Linked DNA regions of Homo sapiens: all the other regions are linked to region 3. Evidence: promoter capture Hi-C in 16 types of primary human blood cells and fetal thymus (Javierre and others, 2016). All regions are on one chromosome and are shown on one strand. Each heading gives the region's core, a stretch centred on a gene start or on the middle of the fragment in contact. The rest is flanking DNA. Distances are from core to core; before and after follow the strand shown. Region 1 holds the start of AXL (AXL receptor tyrosine kinase). Region 2 holds the start of HNRNPUL1 (heterogeneous nuclear ribonucleoprotein U like 1). Region 3 has its middle 30 kb from the start of NUMBL.

What was found. Contacts are between HindIII fragments. The CHiCAGO score rates a contact against its expected background, and 5 or more counts as called.
Region 1: a contact is called between the fragment with the promoter of AXL here and a fragment that was not itself captured in region 3, in 2 of 17 cell types (naive CD8 T cells and total CD8 T cells). The highest score is 8.8, in naive CD8 T cells.
Region 2: a contact is called between the fragment with the promoter of HNRNPUL1 here and a fragment that was not itself captured in region 3, in 1 of 17 cell types (naive CD8 T cells). The highest score is 6.7, in naive CD8 T cells.

What each region holds. Positions count from the first base shown.
Region 1 is chr19:41,217,428-41,220,772 of GRCh38, reverse strand. It overlaps AXL (AXL receptor tyrosine kinase), which reads right to left and starts at 1,550. Exons shown (of 20, transcript NM_021913.5): 1 at 1,296-1,550; 2 at 1-137. The coding sequence starts at 1,380. RefSeq lists a silencer at 1,837-1,976 and an enhancer at 1,585-2,409. The HindIII fragment of the contact is 40,135 bases long and covers 1-3,345 here.
Region 2 is chr19:41,262,622-41,265,905 of GRCh38, reverse strand. It overlaps HNRNPUL1 (heterogeneous nuclear ribonucleoprotein U like 1), which reads right to left and starts at 1,534. Exons shown (of 15, transcript NM_007040.6): 1 at 1,108-1,534. The coding sequence starts at 1,402. RefSeq lists silencers at 1,009-1,058, 1,079-1,148, 1,239-1,478 and enhancers at 1,484-2,022, 2,023-2,562, 2,563-3,102. The HindIII fragment of the contact is 17,682 bases long and covers 1-3,284 here.
Region 3 is chr19:40,658,990-40,662,344 of GRCh38, reverse strand. No RefSeq gene overlaps it. Among named protein-coding and RNA genes, the nearest start is that of NUMBL, 30 kb to the left of the region's middle. The HindIII fragment of the contact is 1,671 bases long and covers 1,241-2,911 here.

The sequences.
Region 1 (3,345 bases), core at 301-2,800, 560 kb before region 3:
CTGTCCATCCCGAAGCCAATGTACCTCGGGGGGCTCTCCCTGAACCTGGAGCTGACACCGAAGGGTGCCCGTGAGTCCCCGGGCACCTGTGATATTCCCTGGGTTGCCCACGAAGGGACTTTCTTCAGCCTGCGTGCCTGGAGGGGAGATGGGAAGAGTTAGCTTAGGAACCCCCCAGCTCCTTCCGGCCCTCAGTTCCACCCTGTCCTTGCCTGCCCACCGGCGGCCAGGACCCCGCCAGGCCCTTAGGCCGACATAGTTGCAGAGTGACCTCAGAGTGGGGTGGAGGGCGGAGGCTCTGAGAGGAGGACGGGAGCCCTCCCAAGGGACTGGGATCTAGCGTCCATCCCGTCGGGAAGGAGGCTCGGGATCTGGCAGCCTCCCACGCCCTGCACTGCCTGGCAGGGCCAGCCCCTGCCCCCTCCGTCCTCTCTTAGGTCTCTAGAGACTTAACAGGTCGCGCTGGTGCTGGTGGATGGAGGGGAAGAATCAGGGGTTGGGGGAGAGAGATAAGGGTGGTGGTGGGGGGAGATAAGGGTGGTGGCGGAGGGAGAAGCCAGAGAAAGGCAGGGGAGATGAGACAGAGAGGAGCACAGATACAAGGCAAGACAGAAAAAATGAAGAAACAGCCCTCAAGAGAGAAGAAAAGGTGGGGGCGGAGGGGGGATACAGTCACAGAGGGAGGCTGAGAAGAGAGAGAGAGACTCAGAGAGCAGGGAGAGATAAAGGCAGAGACTGTGAAAGAGAGAGAAACAGAGACCCACAGAGATAGCAGAGCTGGAGGCAGAGACAGAGAGACAAAGTGAGAGCCTCCTCCCCAGAGATGGAGTGGACTGGTGGGGTAGGGACAAGTGGCGGGTCAGGGGGGTGGTGTTGGCAGGGAGAAGCGTTTTCCCCCAGGGCTCCAGAGCCCTCCTCATCCCACTGCCTGACTCGGTGCCCCTTCGGAAAGATTTCTTCCTTCCTGGCGACCCTCAGCTCAGCCCCTCTCCCCATGGCCCCCTTCTCAGGTCCAGCCCCCACCCCTGCCCTCAGCTTCTCCTTGTCTGTCTGTCTCTCCGGGTCCTCTCTTCTGTCCCCCCTGCCCTTCAGTTCCTCTCTCAGTCTTTCTCTCCCTCTGCCGCACTTGGTGTCTCTGAGTCTGTGTCTCCCTCCCTTGAAGTCCCTTTTCTGTGGTCCCAAGGAAACTCCCTAAGCCAGCCCAGGCCCCCCACACCTGCCATCATCCCCCACCTCCTACCCCTGCCCCAGCCCCTCCGAGGGGATCCCTGCCCCAAGGAGCCCCCATCACTCACCCCTGGGGGCCATGCACGCCCAGCCGCACAGCGCCAAGCACCAGGCCAGCGGGACCCTGCCCATCCTGGGGCACCGCCACGCCATGGGTGCCAAACTTTCCTCAGAAGTTGTTGGGCTCCCAGCGGGGGAGGGGGCAGGGCCGGGCTGTCCCCGGCCCTCCCCCCAGCTCCAGGCTCCCCGGATTTGGCACTGCCTGCCTGGCACAGCGGCAGGGGAGGCCCTTGCCACCGGCTCTGCCCAGCAGCCGCCTTCTCAGCACCCCTGCCTCCTTCCCTCACTCCCAGACTTGGGCAACCCTTTCTCCGCCCCTGGCTCCCCCTTTGCCTCCGCCCACCAGGGCCAGAGCCCAGGGGCCACCTGGACAATCAGGGGTTAACTCAAGAGAGGAGAGGATCAGCTCTTTCTTAAAGGGGCCAGGGAGGGAGCTGAGGAGGGGGAAGGGGACCCTGGTGGCTGTGCCCCCTGTCCTGAGCCAGTGAGGCCGTGTCTCTCTATCCGGGCTCTGGGCGCTGTCCCTCTGGGCTCTGTGTCTGGTAAACATTCCTCCAGAACTCCACTCCCCTCTCAGCTCAGGCCGTGACGCCCCTCTCCCCGCCTCCACCCCCAGCCCAGCCCCAGCCAGGCCTCCTTGGCCCTTCATTCCCCCTCACTCTCTCGGCTCCTCGGACAAGGACACACACACACACACACACACGCACGCACGCACGCACGCACACACACTCTTAGACGTCACTGACACACACAGGCTAGGACAAGCAGAGACACGCAGAGGGACCCAGACGGGCAGGGGCATGCTACTGGCCCACAGACACACTCAGACAAGCCAGGCCAGGAGCTCGATTCCTGGAGAAACCTCAGAGACAGGAGGACACGGCTGGGTGGGCATCCATGGGGGACACTTACTTGGGGAGACACAGATCTTCAGACACGCCAAAACCTGCATGGACGCCTAAATGGGACACCAAATACAGGCGACATGAAGGGGACCCAAGTTGGAATCCCAGTGCTACCACTAACTGTGGGCTACAGGCAAGTGACTGGCCTCCTGAGCCTCAGTTTGTCCATCTGTAAAATGGGAATAAGAATAGTTGTTGGCCGGGCACAGTAACTCACTCCTGTAATCCCAGCACTTTGGGAGGCCAAGGTGGGAGGATCGCTTGAGCCCAGGAGTTCGAGACCAGACTGGTCAATGCACTGAGACCCCCATCTCTACAAGAAGTTTAAAAATTAAAACTTAACCAGGTATCATGGCGTGTGCCTGTGGTCCCAGCTACTAGGGAGGCTGGAGTGAGAGGAACGCTTGAGTCCAAGAGATCGAGGCTGCAGTGAGCCCTGATCATTCCACTGCTCTCTCCTTCTGGTGGGACTGTGTGTCCTGGTTATTGCAGATCTGCTGCCTGCGTATCGGCTCTGCTGCACTTCCATTCCTCGGCCCTGTGTGTTTGGCACGTGGAGGGCTCTGCATGCCTGGATGTCTGTGAGGAGGAGGCTGGGCGTCTATCCCTCTGCTCTTGGCCACCTGTGTTTGGGTACTGGTATACCTACGGTGCATCATAAAGTCCTATCTGTTTGGCCTCCTGATGTCTCTTCTACCTGCCCCTTCCCAGCACCCCCGTCTGATCCTGCCTTCTCCTGCCTCTACTGTCACTCCTTTCTCCCATTTAGCAACCAGAGGACTGTTTCTGAAAGTCAAATCCTACCCTGTCCCTTCTCTGCTTGCCCATGGCCTCCTGCTGCCCTCAGGGCAAGCTCCCAGCTCCTTGTCACTGGCCACTTAGGGCCCTTCACCGTTGTCTCCCTGGGCTGTGTCTTTTTTTTTTTTTTTTTTTTTGAGACCCAGTCTTGCTTTGTTGCCCAGGCTGGAGTGCAATGGCTCGATCTCGGCTCACTGCAACCTCCATCTCCTGGGTTCAAGTGATCCTCCCACCTCAGCTTCCTGAGTTGCTGGGATTACAGGTGTGCACCACCATGCCAGGTTAATTTTTGTATTTTTGGTAGAGACGGGGTTTCACCATGTTGGCCAGGCTGGTCTGGAACTCCTGAACTCGT
Region 2 (3,284 bases), core at 285-2,784, 600 kb before region 3:
CCAGTGAAGTCAACAGGTTTCTTTCTCTTTGCTCCCTACGGCCTCCCCCCTCCCCATATTCGCTAAGCCAGATACGTACTCCTGTGCTGGACACAGGATCCTCTGTCTCCCGCCACATATTTCATCCACTTGGAATGTTACCAACTCATCTGCCCCCATCCCACCCCCAGCTACCCTCTGTTCTCCAAAAACCCCACAGTTAGCTCCAGACCAGTCAGCAGCAGCCTCAAGAGTTATTTGCCCTCAGTTTTCTTAGCTCTAGACCCCCAGATCCTTTGTCCAGGAAAGCATCCTCTCCCCCGCCAGCCTCTGGACACCAGGGCTCCCTATACCTCTTCTAGAAGCCAACCAGAAAGTCCCCAGATCTCCCAGCACCTAATGTCCAGGCTGTGCCTGCTTCAAGGGTGGCCTTCCAGCCCCGGAAGAGAGATGGGGGTGCCCCCTAGTTCAATCTCCCGCAGCCCCTAAATGCTCACTAGCCAAACTCCAAAGCACTGAGTCCATTAGGACCCTCCCCAGCCACAGACACCAGCGCCTCCACCTCTCCCACCCACCCCCGTACCCAAATAGGAGAACGCCCAGGATCGCATCCAGCGGCATATTCCAGGATCCTCCTTCCTCAGAACTCTCGCAGCCCCGCACACCTGGACATTCCTTCCCCACCCTGGAAACACGGCTCCCCACCCCCCAGCCCACACGCTGGGCTAGCACGACCGCCAAGCCCACGGAGCTCCGTACCCTAGGATCCCCATTTTCGAGACCCTCCCCAACCCAAACGGAAAACCTCTTGTTCTTCCGACTCTCTTCGGCTCCAGAAAGCAGTTTCCGGTCTCCGATCCCTACGGTACGGAATCCTCCCCGCCACCCCCGTCCCTCACCTCCGAAACCCAGAGGCCCCTCCCCCAGTGTCCCCCCTGCACTGAGTGTCAGGATCCACCCTCCGGTCGTGCTGGGGCCCTGGTCCCCAGATCCTTTTCGGCGGCGGGTAGCGGGATCCCCCGATCCTCAGGTCGTCTCCCCGACCTCAGGCGCTGGACTCCCGCGTCCCACAGCCCTTTCCTCGGCCCAGGCTCCGGGCTCCCCGGCCCCCGCCCCGCGCACTCTCACAATGTCCGTCCGGCCCCGAGTAGCCGCCGGGCTCCGCGTGCGGCTGCAGCCCGGGCGGCGGTGGCTGCGCGGTCCCCTCCAGCTCGGAGCCCCCCTCGGTCTCGACCTCCTCGTTGATGTGCCCGGGTCGCCCCGGTTCGTCGTCGGCGTCGAGCTCCCGCTCGTCGTCAGGCTCCTCGGCCTCCAACGCCGCCTGCAGCCGCTCAGCAAGCTCGGCCTTGAGGCCTCGAGTGTCCAGGCCGCGGCGCTGCAGCTCCTCGCGAAGTTCGTTCACCTTCAGACGGCGCACATCCATGGCCCGGGCCCCCGGGGTGGCCCCCGAGCCCGGCCCGGCCTCCCAGGGCTCTGTCCCCCTTAAACCTTTCCTGTCAGGAGGCGAAGGGGGAAAGGGGGGGGGCCCACTCCAATGGCGGCAGCGGCTCAAAATGGCCGCCGCCACCGCCTCCCCCCTCACTCGTGCCTCGTCCGATGTTACATGAGTGCCAATTGGTCAGTGCGTGGGGCAACGGGCGCGGGCCCGGAAACCTAGCCAATCAGAGCGCCGTTTTCAAAACAACGGCCACGAGAAGGCCTAGGAGCTACTGGGGAGGAAGCGTTGGCCTACGTCGAAGCCGAGGCCGGAGCGGAGGGCGGGAAAAGGCAGGAGGCGGAGCGCTTGCTGATTGGGTAACTCTCGCGCGCCGGCTGCCGTAAGGTCCAATGAAAATAAGGGAGTAACAATTTGGTCCAATCAACGGTAAGATCTCAGAATGAGTGTCCCACGGCCTTTCCTGCGCAGTCCTTTCATCAAACTAAGTGTCTCTGTAACACACATTCCGATTGGTGTACATCTCCCGCCCCTTGAGGAGTCCGAGCGGGTAAAACCACTAGAACCAATCAAATGGAGGGTCGGCAGAAACCCCTCCTTCCTGTTGCCTTTAAGAAACCGGAAAGAGATGAATTCACCAGGAGCCCGCCCCTTGCCGTTAGGGCGGTTTCAAAACAATCTGCCCACCAATCGCAGTTATTGTCTTAGCTCACTAAAGCTGGTAGCGATGGCTCATTTTAGGAAAAGTTCACCAGATTGGCCGTGCTTCAGAGGACTGCCTCACAAATTTCGCTGTAGGAGGAGGTATACGAAATAGAGATTAAGTGGATACACAGTTCGTAATCTGGAAGGAACCCAGTTGCCTTTAGGAAAAGCAAAATTTTGAGTTGAGAGAGTCCCGAAGGTTTGGCTATAGAAACTAGACTAACAACGGGAGGCAAGTTGTAAAGGACACGGCCTCCCCTTCCCTTGGGTAGTCCGCGGCCGCCTTGCTCTATGGTCGGGTACCTGACGTGGAACGGGCGCTCTGCACGCGACCATAGAGCCTTCCCCTCCCGAAAGACATCCAGAAGTTCACCGACCGCTCTCCCGAATCCTCTAATCGGCTGTTCCCGTAAATCGGGCTGTCTGGCGTCTGTACCGACAAGCTCAACCCCACGGATCCGTCATTAACCTTCGCGCTCAGGAATACAAAAGCCACAGAGCTTCCCAGTGTCTAACGCTGCACCACCTGTCGCCTCTAACTCAAAACAAAACTCGAGTAAGACGCAATCGGGATACATGATGCAGACTCCCACTGCCTCCTGAGCCACACGTTAAGCCCGCAAAAGCCACACACTATCTCTACTCAGACAAAGGCACACCCCGCAGTCGTAAACAAACAGGCGTGCGTCAGATCAGACGCATCCAGTTCTTTTTTTTGTTGTTCTTTTTTTTTTTTTTTTTTTTTTGAGACGGAGTCTCGCTCTTGTTACCCTGGCTGGAGTGCAGGGCCTCTATCTCAGCTCACCGCAACCTCCGCCTCCCGTGTTCAAGCGATTCTCCTGCCTCAGCCTTCCGAGTAGCTGGGATTACAGGTCCCCGCCACCATGCCCGACTAATTTTTGTATTTTTAGTAGAGACGGGGTTTCACCATGTTGGCCAGGCTGGTCTCGAACTCCTGACCTCAAGTGATCCGCCCGCCTCGGCCTCCCAAAGTGCTGGGATTACAGGCGTGAGCCACCGCGCCCGGCCCCAATTCCGATCTGCTTTGGGTAAGGCACCCCGCTGCAGTGTAGATGTGCCCACTACGGTCCGCAGAGGCAGGCGGCATCGAATAATAAAGATAACACAGGATAGTTGCACTACAAGCGAACACTACAGCAACCCA
Region 3 (3,355 bases), core at 827-3,326:
CCTCACCAGTCCCCGCCCCGACCCCTCTGCCTGTGCCCCCCATTCCAGCCCAACCTCTCTGCCCGGGCTTCCCCCATCCTGGCCTCCCACCCCTCTGCCTGTCCCCTCCCCACCATCCCGCCGTGATGGCTCTAGGCTGTCACTGTCTATAATGGGTCGGCGTCCCCGCCCTGCACAGAAAACCTCATGAGGGCAGGGAAGAGAGCTGTCTTGATAACTACTGAGTCCTCAGTATTACCAAGGTAACATTTATTTCCTCCCTCAACACTGGTTTTGTTTTAACAGCTTTACTGAGGTATAATCTACCTGTCATAAAATTCACCTATTATAAGTGATTTACTGATTTTGGGTGATTTTACAGTTCTGCAGCCATCACAGCCAATTCAAGAACATTTCCATCACTCTGAAAAGATCCCTTCTGCCCATTTGCAGTCGCTCCCTATTCCCTGTCCCAGCCCCAGGCAACCACTGGTCTACTTTCTGTCCCATACATATTCTCTTCTTCATTTTACAAGCATTTTCTGAATATTTATTTTTATCAGCTATTGAGGGCTGAGGGTACACAATGAAACTCACAGGCCCTGCCTTCAGGGAACTCAGAGTCTGGTTATTGTAATAGCTGATGGGAAAATATGTCCATGCACTAATTTCTTCATTCATTCAAAAAACATTTATTGGCCAGGCACTGTGGCTTGTGCCTGTAATCCCAGCACTTTGGGAGGCTGATTGGGGAGGGTCACTTGAGGCCAGGAGTTCAAGACCAGCCTGGAAAATATAGTGAGACCCCCCCCCCCACCCCGATCTCTACAAAAAAATTTTTTTTTTTAATTATCAAGGTGTGGTGGTGCACACCTATAGTCCCAGTAACAGGAAGCTGAGGTGGGAGGATTGCTTGAGCCCAGGAGGTCGAGGCTGCAGTGAGCCATGATTGTGCCACTGCACTCCAGCCTGGGTGACAGAACAAGACCATCTCTACAGAAAAAAAAAAAAAAAAAAAAAAGAGAGAAAAAGAAGGGTCTTCCAAAAATTCATGGAAAATGTGTATTATGAAAAAACTATGCATGGAGTTCAATTTTTTTTTTTTGCACCAAAATAAATTCATACTAACTTGTTATAACTTGTCTGAACAGGACCTAGTTTGAGACACTAAAATAAAACATCAGATTGAAAAGAGCCCCTATCAGAGCAACACGAATTCTAAAATTGAAGCAAGAACAAGCATCAAATTGATGGTGAAGCTTGGGTGGAAGAATGATGAAATCATTGATGTTTTCCAAAAACTTGACAGTGCCCCAGAGAAATCAGCCATTTACAAATGGATAACTCGTTTTAAGAAGGGACAAGTTCGGGCGTGGTGGTTCACGCCTGTAATCCCAATACTTTGGGAGGCTGAGGCCAGCGGATCATTGGAGCTCAGGAATTCGAGACCAGCCTGGGTAACATGGTGAAACCCCATCCGTACAAAAAATACATAAATTAGCTGGGTGTGGTGGTGCACACTTGTAGTTCCAGCTACTCAGGAGGCTGAGGTGGGAGGATCACTTGAGTCTGGGAGGTAGAGGTTGCAGTGAGCCGTGATTGCGCCACTGCACTCCAGCCTGGGTCATGCTGAAGATGAAGCCCACCGTGGCATACCATCCACATCAATTTTTGCAGAAAAAAATTAAATTTGTTTATGCCTTAATTAAAGAGGACTTACAGTTAACAGCAGAAACAATAGCCAACACCATAGACATCTCAATTGGTACAGCTTACACAATTCTTTTTTCTTTTTTTTTTTTTTTTTTTTTGAGACAGGGTTCTCATACTGTCGCCCAGGCTGAGTACAGTGGTGAGATTGTGGCTCACTGCAGCCTCAACCTCCTGGGCTCAAGCGATCCTTCCACCTCAGCCTCCGAAGTAGTTGGAACTACAGGTGCGTGCCAGCACGTTCAGCTAAGTGTCACACGCGTCCCTGTGAAGAGACCACCAAACAGGCTTTGTGTGAGCAACAAGGCTGTTTATTTCACCTGGGTGCAGGCAGGCTGAGTCCAAAAAGAGAGTCAGCAAAGGGTGGTGGGATTATGATTAATTCTTATAGGTTTTGGGATAGGCGGTGGAGTTTGGAGCAATGTTTTGCGGGCAGGGGGCGGATCTCACAAAGTTCATTCTCAAGGATGGGAAGAATTACAAAGAAACTTCTTAAGGGTGGGGGAGATTACAAAGTACATTGATCATTAGGGTGGGGCAGAAACAAATCACAATGGTGGAATGTCATCAGTTAAGGCTATTTTCACTTCTTTTGTGGCTCTTCAGTTGCTTCAGGCCACCTGGATGTATACGTGCAGGTCACAGGCGATATGATGGCTTAGCTTGGGCTCAGAGGCCTGACACTAAATTTTCGTATTTTTTGTAGAGATGGGGGTCTCATTAGGTTTCCCAGGCTGGTCTTGAACTCCTGGACACAAGTGATCCTCCTGCCTCATTCTCCCGAACTGCTGGGATTACAGGCTTGAGCCACCTCACCCGGCCTCAGCTTACACAATTCTGACTGAAATTAAAGCTAAACAAACTTTCCACTCGATGGGTGCCAGAACGGTCGCACCCAGATCAGCTGCAGAGAAGAGCAGAGCTTTCCATGGACATGCTAAACAAGTGAGATCGAGATCCTAATGCATTTCCTTGAAGGATTGTAACGGGAAATGATACATGGTTTCACGGGTGCAATCCTAAAGACAAATCGTAATCAGAGAATGATTGCCAAGAGCGGGGAAGTGATCCAGTCAAGGCAGAAGCACACTGGTCAAGAGCAAAGGTCATAGCAACAGTTTTTGGGGATGCTCAAGGCATTTTGCTGGTTGACTTTCTGTAGGGTCAAAGAATAATAAGATCTGCTTATTATGAGAGTGTTTTGAGAAAGTTAGCCGAAGCTTTAGTAGAAATAAGCCTGGGAAGCTTCACCAGAGAGTTCTTCTCCAGCATGTCTACGCTTCTGCTCATTCTCCTCATCAAACGAGCAATTTTACAAGTTTTGATGGGAAATTATTAGGCATCCACTTGGCAGTCCCAATTTGGCTCCTTCTGACTTTTTGTTTCCTAATCTTAAAATCTTTGAAGGGCACCCATTTTTCTTCAGTTAAGAATGTAAAAAGACTGGGCTGGGCGGAGTGGCTCACGCCTGTAATCTTAGCATTTTGGGAGGCCAAGGAGGGTGGATCACCTGAGGTTGGGAGTTCAAGACCAGCCTGACCAACATGGCAAAACCCTGTCTCTACTAAAAAAAAAAATACAAAAATTAGCCAGGTGTGGTGGCTCATGACTGTAATCCCAGCTAGTCGGGAGGCTGAGGCAGGAGAATCACTTGAACCCAGGAGGT